Regions from separate parts of the Homo sapiens genome. Here region 1 is linked to region 2. The links are contacts of gene promoters, found by promoter capture Hi-C in blood cells and fetal thymus (Javierre and others, 2016). All regions are on one chromosome and are shown on one strand. The core of a region is centred on a gene start or on the middle of the fragment in contact, and the rest is flanking DNA. Distances in the headings are between cores, read along the strand shown.

Region 1 (7,170 bases), core at 757-3,256, 130 kb after region 2:
TAAGGCAAATAAGAAACGGGGAGTTCAGGATCACGTTATTATCTCCCCTCTCACCTTTCTGTATCATGGTTTCTTCTTGTCTAGGACCATATGAGGGAAGATGGGCCCTGTAGTCTTGTCCAATTCCCTAGCTAAGTGCTTCTGTCCCAGGGAATTCTGAGCCCAACCTCCAGGTTACATTGGATCAGCAGACGGCCCTCAGCTATAGCTCATTCAAGAAATCATTCATTCACTCACGTGAGCCAGGCATGACTCTAGGTGCTGGGGATACAATGGTCAACAAACAAACAAGGTCCTTGCCCTCGTGGAGCTGTCACCTGGGGAAGGCAGCTATTTTTTTTTTTTTTTTTGAGACGGAGTCTCACTCTATTGCCTAGGCTGGAGTGTAATGGCACGATCTCGGCTCACTGCAACCTCCGCCACACCCAGCTAATTTTTTTATTTTTAGTAGAGACAGGGTTTTACTATGTTGGCCAGACTGGTCTTGAACTCCTGACCTCGTGATCGACCCGCCTCGGCCTCCCAAAGTGCTGAGATTACAGGCATGAGCCACTGCGCCTGGCCAACAGCAGCTTTTAAATCAATATGCAAATAAACATATGTTCACCAGCTGGGCGTGGTGGCTCACGCCTGTAATCCCTGCACTTTTGGAGGCTGAGGCGGGCAGATCACTTGAGCTCAGGAGTTCAAGACCAGCCTGGGCAACATGATGAAACCCTGCCTCTACCAAAAATATGAAAATTAGCTGGGCATGCTGGTGCATGCCTTTAGTCCCAGCTACTTGGGAGGCTGAGGTGGGAGGATGGCTTGAGCCCAGGAAGTTGTGGCTGCTGAGCTGTGATTGTGTCACTGCACTCCAGACTAAGACCTTGTCTCAAAAAAAAAAAAAAATATATATATATATATGGATAGATATAGATACATATACACAGTGTGTGTGTGTGTGTGTGTGTGTGTGTGTATTTGCAGGCTGTTATGAGGTGAGGAGAGAGGAGTAGAACCCAGTTTAGAAGGCCTCTCTGAGGAGGCCTGAAGCTGAGATCCCTGAAGGATGAGAGGTCAAGCCCTCCAGGCAGAGGGAACAACATGGTCAAAGACTCTTGAAATGGGAGGGAACACGATGTTTTCAAATAACTAACAGGAAAGAGGAAAGCGGTGGAGCAGAGCCCAGAGCAAGTAGGACAGTGGTTCCAGAAAAGATTGGAGAGGGAGGGGCAGGACCACGCTGGGTCTTACAGACTGAGGCAAGGAATTCGTTATAAGTGAACCTCTAATGCCTTCTGCTCTCTCTACCCAGTGCTGGGGAAGAAATGAGCTGGTTTGTTCTGCTAGTTCTGTCCTCCCATGATAGTCATGAAAGCTTGGGGGTTAAAGAAATCTGGCATGAGACAAACCACCATAAAAAAATTATCAGCTTCAGCTTCTTTTTAAGTGAGTGACCTCTAAACTCATCTGACCCAGAGACTATGGACCAGGTGGGTAATGCAAAGGTCTTCATCCCCTCTCCCTGCACTGACCACAGGCCTACAGAAATAAATTCATTAATTCAGCAGTCATCACGTCTGCTACAGATGGACTCCTTAGTTCGTTTGCTTAGATGGTTCTTGAGGTGGAATACTGATTTACAAGTGCACCTCTAATGCCTTCTGCTCTCTCTACCCAGTGCTGGGGAAGAAATGAGCTGGTTTGTTCTGCTAGTTCTGTCCTCCCATGAGTCATGAAAGCTTGGGGGTTAAAGAAATTTGGCATGAGACAAACCACCAAAAAACATTATCAGCTTCAGCTTCTTTTTTGGTGAGTGACCTTCGAAGGAGCTGGCGCAATGGGGGTTGGCGCAATGGCTTCAAGGAGGCTGGCACAATGGCTCACGCCTTCAAGGGGGCTGGCGCAATGGCTCACGCCTGTAATCCCAGCACTTTTGGAGGCTGAGGCGGGTAGATCACTGAGGTCAGGAGTTCGAAACCAGCCTGGCCAACATGGTGAAACCCCGTCTCTACTAAAAATACAAAAAAAATTAGCCAGGCGTGGTGGCAGGCACCTGTAATCCCAGCTACTTGGAAGGCTGAAGCAGGAGAATCACTTGAACCCGGAAGGCAGAGGTTCCAGTGAGCAGACATTGTGCCACTGCACTCCAGCCTGTGTGACAGAGTGAGACTCCACCTCAAAACACAACAAAACAAACAAAAAAAACCTACAAGGTGAGGAAAATGTGCACAAATAACTGTAATAAAAGGAAGAGAGTGATAAAAGCTACAAAAAGGTTAACAGATAAGCATTTTCCAAGTAACAAAGCTTTTTCTACTACATGTTACAGGAGCCATTGAGTGCTCTTGCAAAGAAAACCAGCACTACAAAGTAGTAAATTATAAGTGATGCAAACACTACCTCCTGTAGAAACTCACAGGAAGGGAAGCCAGGTAGAGGCATGCTCCCATGCCAGCAGGTGGGGATACAAATCCTCCTTCTGCTACCTTTCCAGAAGAAAGTTAGCAATAGAGATCAAGAGCGTAAAAAAAAAAGAAAAGAAAAAAGAAAAAAAAAATCATTTCGACCCAATAATTCCACTTCTAAGAATGTATCCTTAGGAAAAAAAATTAGACATTTGTTCAAGGATTTCTGTTGAATTTTCCTTATAAGGTTATTATATTATCAAATAGAAACAACTGAAACAGCCAAGTTGGGTTACATTATGGGACATGCTCATGATGGCATCATATTTAAGTGACGTTTTTGAAGCACGGTAGTGACTTTTGGAAAAGGCTCAATACATCATTTTAATGAGACGTGCAAACTCATCATTACGATATACTAGGAGAAATGCTTTGACAGACGAAGTGGGAACAACTGGGAGAGTGAATGATGGAGTGTCAGGAACAGGGGCATATGAGTTGGGTCTTCCAGGTTGTGGAGGTGTTTCCGGGTGGAAGAGAAGGAGGGACCAAGCGGAGAGCCCTAAGTCCTGAAGACAACTGGGAAGGTAACACACCTCTTAAGAAGGGCATGCAGCAGCCATACCTCTCATCCGCCACGGTCAGCAAACCCATTGTGTTTCCTGGAGTGAGTTGGGCCATCAAGATGGGTGGTGCCCTCCTGCTGGGGAAGAGGGGCTCGGTGGGAATCCCTGCCCCAAGGCCTGGCAGCAACGCTCCTACGCTGCCTTGGGCCGCAGGCCTGCTAAGCCCTCCGCTCTCGCTTCCCTGCGCGCGAAATAAGTCCCAGGGCCAATGTGGCCTCCCCACCCAGTGCTTCCGGGGGCGCCAAAAAACGACCTGCCCAGACCCTCAGCGTCGACGCTGCGCACAAGCGCAGTCAACTGCTGGACCCGGCCGGTGTGAAGTTTCACACCCAAAAGGATGAAGGGCACCCACCTGGCTTAAGAGAACGACTCCCAGGTAAAGGGCCAGACCCAGGTGAGGAGTCGGCACAGGGCCAGAGGTGCCCTGCACACTCAGAGCTCTCCCTTTGAGCTCCTTGCCTTGCTCGGTTCTCCTGGGCCGCAGGCGTCTACCCTGCTCTCTGGGGTTCCGCTGCCTTTTCCTTGCCAGGTCTTTCCCACAGCAACGCCTTTTCTCTTCCTTCTCCAGCCTCTGAGTCCTCTTCCTCCTCTCCCCACTGTCCCACCTCTGAGGGACAGAAGTGGGGTGGTTTGAGAGCAGGAGACTGGAGGGAAGAAGCAAGTCCAGGCCTAGCTGCAAGCACTCCCCACCCCCGCCCCCGCCCCCGCCCCCGCCCCCGCCAGGCTCTAGGACACTTGACTTCTGTTAGGCCTCACACGGTTTGGTCTGAAGTGTTTCTCTCTTAATAGCTGTGGATCGGCGAGGCTCAATGGCTCACGCCTGTAATCTCAGGACTTTGGGAGGCCGAGGTGGGTGGATCACCTGAGGTCAGGAGTTCAAGAACAGCCTGACCAACATGGTGAAACTCTGTCTCTACTAAAAACACAGAAAATTAGCCGGGCGTGGTGGCGTGCACCTGTAATCTCAGCTACTCGGGAGGCTGAGGCAGGAAAATCGCTTGCACCCAGGAGGTGGAGGTTGCAGTGAGCCGAGATCGCGCCATTACACTTCAGCCTGGGCAACAAGAGCAAAAAACTCCGTCAAAAAAAAAAAAAAGAAGAAGAAGTTGTGGAGCTGTCTGATTCCTGATCCTGTCCGTTCAGGCTGGGGCCGCCCTGGTCTTTCAAACCCAGCAGTGAGCTTGGACAGACCCAGAGGTGTTTACTCCAGGTAATAGGAGCTCTAGACAAAATCAGGCTCTTTTCCTGGCTTAGACCTCTCCCTGCTTACAACACCTCTAGGATGTGGGATATCTAGAGGTCTGTGTAGCTGGAGGATGCTGGGAAATGTGAGGAGAAGATGTTTCCTCCTTAAAATTGGAATCTTTCTGATCACCTGAATTCTCCTGCTAGCCACAAATCCCACTCACTCTTATCTTATCCTTGTCCTTCTGTCATCGTTTACCTGCCTAATCCCTGAAGGTAGTGAGTTTCCTGTCACTGGAAGTGCACTTCTCGGTACCCTTACTTGTAGAAGTTCTCACAGATGCTGCTTCTCCTCTGGCTCAGATCATGTCTACTGTGAAGGAAGCAGCACACCGGCTGTCCAAAAGTGAGATGAGCCTCTATGCAGTGCTGGATCTTAAGAAGGGCGCCTCACCTGAAGACTTCAAAAAATCCTACAGGTTCAGACCTCAGCCCTTTATTGATCCTTGGAATTTCCCCCTTAAACCTTTTTCTTTCTGTATCTCTTTTGCTATCTGACTCTTTTTTTTTTTTTTTTTTTTTGAGAGGAAGTCTCGTCCTGTCACAGAGCAGAGACAGAGACTATTGAGAGTGCAGTGGCACGATCTTGGCTTACTGCAACCTCTGCCTCCCAGGTTCAAGCAATTCTCTCACCTCAGCCTCCTGAGAAGCTGGGACTACAGGCGTGCACCACCACGCCTGGCTAATTTTTGTATTTTTAGTAGAGACAGGGTTTCGCCATGTTGGCCAGGCTGGTCTCAAACTCCTGACCTCAGGTGATCTACCTGCCTCGGCCTCCCAAAGTGCTGGGATTACAGGTGTGAACCACTGTGCCTGGCCTACGACCCGTTTGTTTGTTTGTTTGTTTGTTTGTTTGTTTTGAGACAGTCTCGCTCTGTTGCCCAAGCTGTAGTGCAGTGGTGCAGTCTCGGCTCACTGCAACCTCCACCTTCCGGGTTGAAGTGATTCTCCTGCCTCAGCCTCCCGAGTAGCTGGGATTACAGGTGCCTGCCACTATGCCCAGCTAATCTTTTGTATTTTTGGTAGAGACAGGGTTTCACCATGTTGGCCAAGCTGGTCTCAAACTCCTGACCTCATGATCCGCCCACCTTGGCCTCCCAAAGCGCTGGGATTACAGGTGTGAGCCAGTGCTCCCAGCCCTATGACCCATTTTTAAGTTCCAACAAGCCCTCACTTTGGGGCCAAATGGCACCATCACCCTCTTCATTATAGTATGGGAAGGAGTTTAGACCTTGGATGCTTGCCTCCATCCTTTGTACCACATCTCATGCATTCCTTCTGCACTCTCTAGAGACTAATCCATGTCATTCATCGTAAGTCTCCTTCCCCAGCCATTCCGCATTGCTTCCCCACCCTCCTTTTGAGTATCACCTGGGTAGGAAACTGGCCTTGCGGTATCATCCCGACAAGAATCCAGGGAATGCTCAAGCAGCAGAAATATTCAAAGAGATCAACGCAGCTCATGCCATACTGAGCGACTCTAAGAAGCGGAAAATTTACGACCAGCATGGCTCATTGGGAATATATCTGTATGATCACTTTGGTGAAGAAGGCGTCAGATACTATTTTATTCTGAATAGTTGTTGGTTCAAGGTACACAATTCTCCAGGTCCTTTAAGAATAAGGAAAGAAGGGTGACCTTCCTTTCCTTATGACAAATGCTTCTGTTGTCTCATTTTCTGGGTGCCAGGAGGATTGAGGGAGGGAAGCTTGAGCAGTCATATAGAAAACTGCTGGACTGAGGCCATTCTCGCCTACCTTTTAGACACTTGTCATCCTGTGTACTCTGCTCACTTGTTGCTGTTTCTGTTGTTGCTGCTGTTTTTGCTGTGGAGCACTTAAACCACCACCTGAGCAGGATAGTGGGAGAAAATATCAGCAGAATGTCCAGAGTCAGCCTCCAAGGTCAGGTGAGAACTGCAAGCAGGGACTGTGAGGTAAGAAATGTCTGGATTGGGAATGAAAGAAATGATTGGGGTTGGGCACAATGGCTCATGCCTGTAATCCCAGCACTTTGGGAGGGTGAGGCGGGTGGATCACTTGAGGTCAGGAGTTGGAGACAAGCCTGGCCAACATGGTAAAACCCTGTCTCTACTAAAAATACAAAAATTAGCTGGGCATGGTGGCACCCACCTGTAGTCCCAGCTACTTGGGAGGCTGAGGAGGCAGAAGAATCGCTTGAACCCGGAAGGCAGAGGTTGCAGTGAGCTGAGATCGCGCCACTGCACTCCAGCCTGGGAGACAGAGCAAGACTCCATCTCAAAAAAAAAAAAAAAAAAAAAAAAAGAAAAGAAAAGAAAGAGGCTGGGCATGGTGGCTCAAACCTGTAATCCCAGCACTTTGGGAGGCCGAGGCGGGCGGATCACGAGGTCAGGAGTTTGAGACCAGCCTGACCAACATGGTGAAACCCTGTCTCTACTAAAAATACAAAAATTAGCCAGGTGTGGTGGCGGGCGCCTGTAACCCCAGCTACTTAGGAGGCTGAGGCAGGAGAATTGCTTGAACCCGGGAGACGGAAGTTTCCGTGAGCCAAGATCATGCCACTGCACTCCAGCTTGGGCAACAGAGTGAGACTCCATCTCAAAAAAAAAAAAAAAAAAGAAAGAAAGAAATGGTTGAGGGTGAGAAAGACCTGTGAAAATGGCAGGTTAATCCCTAAATATGACAATTTCAAGTCTTCAAGTCTGGCACTGGGACAAAGTGAAGAAAAAAAAAAGATCAATATGTTTCTGTGCATCACACGACAAACTGACAGTTTGAAGGTAGTAGTGTCAGCTCCTGTTAAGCTAAGGAATGGGGTGGGAGAGTATGTCTAGAGAGGACAGTTAGGTTAAGACAGATTTGAGGATGCAATTTTTGTTGTTGTTGTTTTGTTGTTGTTGGTGGTGGTGGTGTTGAGATGTAGTCTC
Region 2 (7,008 bases), core at 3,203-5,702:
CCACTGTGCCCGGCCTGTTTTTCTATTTTCTATTTCATTTATTTCTGCTCTAATCATCATTATTTCCTTCCTTTTGCTTACTTTGAGTTTAGTTTGCTCTTCTGTTTCTAGTTTCCTAAAGAGGTTAGTTACTGATTTGAAATTTTTTCTCGTTTTCAAATTTTTTTAACTTTTTTTTTTTTTTTTTTTTCTGAGACAGAGATTTGCTCTTGTTGTCCAGGCTGGAGTGCAACAGTGCTATTTCCACTCACTGCAACCTCCGCCTCCCGGGTTCAAGCGATTCTCCTGCCTCAGCCTCCCGAGTAGCTGAGATTACAGGCGCCTGCCACCATGCCCGGCTAATTTTTTTGTATTTTTAGTAGAGATGGGGTTTTGCCATGTTGGGCAGGCTGGTCTCAAACTCCTGACCTCAGGTGATCTGCCCGCCTCAGCCTCCCAAAGCTCTGGGATTATAGGCGTGAGCCACTGCGCCTGGCCATTTTTTTTTTAAATATAAACATTTACAGCTATAAATTTTCCTTCTTTTTCACTGCTTTAGCTGGATCTCATAATTTTGGTATGTTGTGTTTTTGTTTACATTCGTCTCAAAGTATTTTCTAATTTTCCTTGCAATATCTTCTTTAACTTACTGATTATTTAAGGATGTGTTGTTTAATTTCTCTATGTTTGTGAATTTTCAAAAGTTAGCTCTGTTATTGATTTCTAATTTAATTATATTGTGGTTAGAGAATATTATTTGTATGCCTTCAGTCCTTTTAAATCTACTGAGGCTTGTTTTATTTATTTTATTTTATTTTGAGGTGGAGTTTCGCTCTTATTGCCCAGGCTGGAGTGCAATGGAGCGATCTCGGCTCACTGCAACCTCCACCTCCCAGGTACAAGCGATTCTCCTGCCTCAGCCTCCCAAGTAGCTGGGATTAAAGGCATGTGCCACCACGCCCGGCTAATTTTGTATTTTTACTAGAGATGGGGTTTCTACATGTTGGTCAGGCTGGTCTTGAACTCCCAACCTCAGGTGATCCGCATGCCTCGGCCTCCCAAAGTGCTGGGATTACAGGCGTGAGCCACTGCGCATGTTGAGGCTTGTTTTATGATCCATTCTGGAGACTCTAACATATGATCCATTCTGGAGAATCTTCCATGTGCAATTTAGAAGAATCTGTAGCATTATGTTGTTGAGTGTTATTTGATGTCTGTTAGGTTTAGTAGGTTTATAGTGTTTCCCAAGTCGTCTATATCCTTATTGATTTTCTGCCTAATTGCTTGAAACTTGTAATTTTGAGGATTGCTTGAGTCAGATTCTATCTCTGTTGCCCAGGGTGGAGTGCAGTGGCGCAATCATAGCTCACTGTAACCTGGAACTCCTGGGCTCAAGTGATCTTCCCCTCTGCCCCAACAGCCTCCTGAGAAGCTAGGATTACAGGCATGCACCACTGCACCTGGCTAATACAATTATCATTTGTGTAAATTTAAAATTTATTCATACAACAATGCACAGGCTTCAGTAACACATACTACATTAGTTATCTATAGCTGCTTCCAAATTACCCCCAAACTTAAGCAGCAATAAACATTTATTATCTTCTATGGCTTCTATAAGTCAGGAATTCTACGGGCAAGAGCAATTTAGCTGGGTGATCTTGGCTCAGGGTCTCTCATGGGTTGCACTCAAACCGACAGCCAGGGCTGCAGTCATCTGGAGGTCCAACTGGAACTGGAGGATCCATTTCTGAGGTGGCTCACTCCCACGGTTGGCAAGTCGTGGTGGCTGTCAGTGAGAGGCCTCAGTTCCTCACAACATGGGCCTCTCCACAGGGCTGCTTGGATATCCTCAAGATAGCAGCTGGCTTCCCCCAGAGTGAGCGATCCAAGAGGGAGCAAGGGGGTAACTGCACTGTTTTTATTTTTTATTTTTTTTTGAGACAGTCTCACTTTGTCGCCCAGGCAGGAGTGCAGTGGCACGATCTCGGCCTACTGCAACCTCTACCTCCTGGGTTCAAGCGACTCCTGCCTCAACCTCCCGAGTATCTGGGACTATAGGCATGCATCACCATACCTGGATAATTTTTGGGGTTTTTTTTGTTGTTGTTTGTTTTTTAAGATGGAGTTTCGCTCTTCTGCCCAGTCTGGAGTGAAGTGGCGTGATCTCAGCTCATTGCAACCTCCGCCCCCGGGTTCAAGCAATTCTTCTGCCTCAGCCTCCCATGTAACTGGGATTATAGGCACCTGCCACCACACCTGGCTAATTTTTGTATTTTTAGTTGAGACAGGGTTTCGCCATGTTGGCCAGGCTAGTTTCGAACTCCTGACCTCAGGTGATCCGCCCACCTCGGCCTCCCAAAGAGCTGGGATTACAGGCGTGAGCCACCGCGCCCGGCCTGATGCACATCTTTTCCATCTCCTTTCTATATGTTCACATAAGCACATAAAACTTTACATTTCTATTTTTTATTTTTTGGTGTATTTTTTTACGTGGCTGGGGTCTTACTATATATATTGATCTACAACTAGCTTTTTTCACAACTGTGTGTTTTGAAGAGTTTTTCATGTCATTTAACAAAGGGCTGTCATTATTTTTATTACTGTACATTATTTCATAGTATGGAGATGCCAAAATTTATTTAACGACTTCCCTACTGATGGACATGCAGGTTGTTTCTACTAACCTACCTACCTTTCTTTCTTTCTTTCTTTGCTTCCTTCCTTCCTTCCTTCCTTCCTTCTTTTTTCAAGACCGTGTCTTGCTCTGTCGCCCAGGCTGGAGTGCAGTGGCACGATCTTGGCTCACTACAAGCTCCACCTCCCAGGTTCACGCCATTGTCCTGCCTCAGCCCCCTGAGTAGCTGGGACCACAGGCACCCACCACCACGCCCGGCTAATTTTTTTGTATTTTTAGTAGAGATGGGGTTTCACCCATCTTAGCCAGGATGGTCTCAGTCTCCTGACCTCGTGATCTGCCCATCTCAGCCTCCCAAAGTGCTGGGATTACAGGTGTGAGCCACTGCACCCGGCCCTTCCTTCCTTCCTTTCCTTTCCTTTTTTTTTTTTTTTTTTTTTTTTTTTTGAGATGGAGTCTCGCTCTGTCGCCCAGGCTGGAGCCCAGGCAATCTCGGCTCACTGCAACCTCTGCCTCCCGGGTTCAAGCAATTCTCCTGCCTCAGCCTCCCGCGTAGCTGGGACTACAGGCACGTGGCACCACACCCAGCTAAATTTTTGTATTTTTAGTAGAGACGGGGTTTCACCAAGTTGGCCAGGATGGTCTCCGTCTCTTGACCTCATGATCTACCTGCCTCTGCCTCCCAAAGTGCTGGGATTACAGGCGTGAGCCACCGCGCCCGGCCTCTTTTTCCCTTTCTCTGTGGTGGGCTGCATATCTTTCTCACTGTACATCCACCTTTTTACTTTCTCCTTACTTATTTGATCTCCCCTGAGGTTCGAGAATGGGGGACAAGGGACATCAGGCTGGATTCTGCTACAGGCAGAGGTCCCTGGAAGACAGCAGGGGCTGCTGTGGCAGATTCGCGATTCCTTCAGCCCGCCTTCTCCTAACTAGCTCTTGGAGGATGTGATGCAACTCAGGAACACCATGGTCCTTGCCTTCAGAGACCTCATGTCTAGCATGGGGACAGACGCGTGAGTAACCCATGGGAGGCAGGCTAGCATCAGGTGAGGGGTAGCCTTCAAAGTCCAACTGACGGCTTGGATTTTCATCCCACCCCACCACTTAACGGATGTTTGACATTGGGCAAGTTATTTCACCTCCCAGTATACCAGTTCCCACACATCTAAACTGAGTCTCTTTTTTTCTTAAAAGGTTGCTCTGAGAAATAAATAAGATGCTTAGCACAGTGCCTGGCACACAGTAATCTATGAATATCGAACTTCTGGGAAAGTAGCCAGGCTGTGATTGTACCAATCAAACAGGGACCCATGGGCTCTGGGCCTGCGGGATTTGAAGTCTTCACGAATGAAAGGCGGAGACCTGAAGGATGGGCAGTACCTCCTGGCAGAGCTGGAGGAAGGTATTCTGGGGCGTGGAAAGGTAAATTTAAACACAGAGTGGAAATCGGAGGCATATTTGGGGCATGGCAAATCGCGCTCTGTGGCTGGAAGGTCACGTTCATTGGCAAGGGGAGGAAAGGCCTTTCAGGGATGTATGCAGGCAGCCTTCTGGCACAGACGAAGGAGGTTCAAGTCCTCTCCATGGACGTGAGCTCCAAAGCGGAAGTCACAGGTCCACCATAGGACCACTGTTGAGGTTAGGCATGGCCGGAAAGGAGCTCCCTTCCCCACTATCCTCCTGCCTTCTTCAGCATGGGCCTCCTCCCAAGGCTTGGCCACTCCCAGCATCCAGCACCCCCACCTCTCAGCTGGGTTAGGAGGCAGGCGGAGGCTTTTCGCGGGGGCTGTGCCTGGTGGGCGGTTTTCCCAGAGCAGGGAGCAAACAGGACTGAGTTGGCGCCAGCTTCCTCGGATGTAGATATTGCTGGCTGGATGACCAGCCACAGCCAGCTAGCTTGAGTCCAAGGCCTCCTCAGGCACTGTGTTTCTGCTCTGTGGGCTGCAGCCCCAGTGGGGTGGCATGTCACAGAGGAAGGCCAGAGGGCCACCAGCCATGCCAGGGGTGGGGCATAGCCAGACTCAGGCCAAAGCACGGTTGCTGCCAGGCGCTGACAGGAAGAGGAGCCGCCTCAGCAGGACAAGGCAGGACCCGTGGGAAGAAAGAAGCTGGAGCAACCAGAGATGGAGCAGAGCTACCCCTGGCCCTCGAGGGACCAGGGCTGGGGGCCTGGCTCTTGGCAGGGTAAGGAAATCCTGCACCTGCAGAGGGGTCCAGGGGAGGAAGGGGTTGGAAGGTGGGGAGATGTCACCTCTGATGGTACAGCCTCACTCAGTATTACCATTCCTGCCCAAGAGAGGGGACACTGGCCCCTTAGACTCCAAGGCATCATGCTTTGGGTAGTTGGGATAGATCAGAGCTGGTCTTAACCAGAGTGCAGCTCAGAGAGCTGCACTAACTCACTTCTCTTGAGGAAACTGAGGCCGGGAAGAGGGATGTGAATTTCCCAAGGTCACTGAGCAGCAGCCAGTGGTAGGACTGGGACTTCAGCCTGTGTGCTTTGACCCCTGGTTCTGTGTCTTTCCTCTTTCCCACAGCAGCCTCGTCGTCTCAGGACCTGGCTAGGTCAAGGGTCCGCCCTCCCAAACAGGGTGTAGCTCTGAACTCCCCCTGGCCCCAGCACACCCTGATAAGCAGGATTCAGATTGGGCATGGGACAGGACAAAGGCTCTGAGGAGGCATGAGTGGAGTAGTAGAGAGAACACAGGACTCTGGGTTCTGAGCCAAGCTCTGCCATCCTGCAGCCATCTGACCCCTGGCCAGGCCTTCCCCCAACTTCCTCAGCTGTGAAACGCGGCAGGGCTGCAGATGACGTAGGTGGGCAGAGGCCCTCTGGTGCCTACTGCTAGACACCCTTCTACTCTGGTGGGAGACCTTGTGCTCAAACGCTCTCAGAAGTCAGGGCAGTTGGGAGTCCAGGTCACACACACTCACTGGGGCCCTCTGTGCAGAGCGAGGCCAGTCCTGAGAATGCCGCGCGGGAGCGGAGCCGGGTCAGGACGCTGCGCCAGGCCTTCTTGGCCTTGCAGGCTGCTCTGCCTGCCGTGCCGCCCGACACCAAGCTCTCCAAGTTGGACGTGCTGGTGCTCGCCGCCAGCTACATAGCCCACCTCACCCGCACACTCGGCCACGAGTTGCCTGGCCCTGCCTGGCCGCCCTTCCTGCGTGGACTCCGCTACTTGCACCCTCTCAAGGTAAGTCACAAGCCCTGGGACTTGAGAGGCGGATCTTAATGCCCAGGGCCTTGGAGAAAGGGATTGGAATGAGGGGGGACATTGGACTTGGGCCCCCTGCCCTGTGCAGAACTGACGTCGGAGCCAATTTCTCCTGCTGTCTCAGAGGGAGAGGAGCCAAGGCTGACCCTTGGGGCTGCGCTGACCCTGGGTTTCTCATGGGAGTGTGGCTGGAAATGGCTTCATGGGAATGCACCTCCTTGAAGAGGAGGGAAAGACTCTGGGGTTCTTAGAGTCACAGGGAAAAATGTAGCAGGTTCCAAGTCTGGGGCCTGGGAAAGGAAATTATACCAAGGAGAGTCCTAGATCCCCATGCAGCTTCAGCCCATTGTGCCTGCCTTGGTGCTTTCTAGGCTTCTGTTGCAAGAGAGGTCTGTCCTCCAGGAGAACAACGGTCTGAGGGACCGTCATTCTAGAAGCAACCAAGCTGGGGGAGTTAGCAGGCAGCAGTACAGGGAAGGCGCGCACCACTTGCCAGACTGCAATCTAGCTTTTCTCAACCTCAGTTTTATTACACGTAAAATAGAAGCTAACATGAGCCTTACTTCTCTTCCAGAGTACAAAATGGAAAGTCTAATGAACATTAATCATCTTTGCAATAACAGCTAACAGTTGAGTGCTAAAGATAGGCCAGGAGCTGGGTTAAGTACGTTAGTGTATTTTTGTCTTTTAATCCATGCAAAAACCAAATGAGGATTACTTTACAGATGAGGAAACTGAAGCTTAGGGAGGTTATGAGGCTGAAAGCGGTTTGAACTCAGGGGTGTCTGACTTCAGACCCTAAGCTCATAGCCACTAAACAGTCTCCAGGGACAGCGCCATAAGGAGCTGGTTGAAGAGTGCACTGTGTTAAAAAGGAAGGGTCATCTTTGCCCTCTGAGGATAACATTGCAGTGGTATCAACTTTTTTATTTTATTATTTATTTATATATGTACTATTATTTTTTTGAGACAGAGTTTCACTCTGTCGCCCAGGCTGGAGTGCAGTGGCGCAATCTTGGCTCACTGCAACCTCCACCTCCCGGTTCAAGTGATTCTCCTCCCTCAGCCTCCCGAGTAGGTGGGATTATAGGCGTGCACCACCATGCCCGGCTAATTTTTCTATTTTTAGTAGAGATAGGGTTTCACCACTTTGGCCAGGTTGGTCTCAAACTC

The links. The method cuts DNA at HindIII sites, captures the fragments that hold promoters and counts their contacts. A CHiCAGO score of 5 or more calls a contact.
Region 1: a contact is called between a fragment that was not itself captured here and the fragment with the promoter of TCF23 in region 2, in 2 of 17 cell types (naive B cells and total B cells). The highest score is 6.5, in naive B cells.

The regions. Positions count from the first base shown.
Region 1 is chr2:27,272,162-27,279,331 of GRCh38, forward strand. DNAJC5G (DnaJ heat shock protein family (Hsp40) member C5 gamma) reads left to right here and starts at 3,272. Exons shown (of 7, transcript NM_173650.3): 1 at 3,272-3,392; 2 at 3,945-4,226; 3 at 4,565-4,680; 4 at 5,593-5,854; 5 at 6,027-6,171. The coding sequence starts at 4,568. It also overlaps a transcript of SLC30A3 not described here. The HindIII fragment of the contact is 568 bases long and covers 1,723-2,290 here.
Region 2 is chr2:27,144,552-27,151,559 of GRCh38, forward strand. It overlaps TCF23 (transcription factor 23), which reads left to right and starts at 4,453. Exons shown (of 3, transcript NM_175769.3): 1 at 4,453-4,804; 2 at 5,572-5,814. The coding sequence starts at 4,583. The HindIII fragment of the contact is 12,568 bases long and covers 1-6,573 here.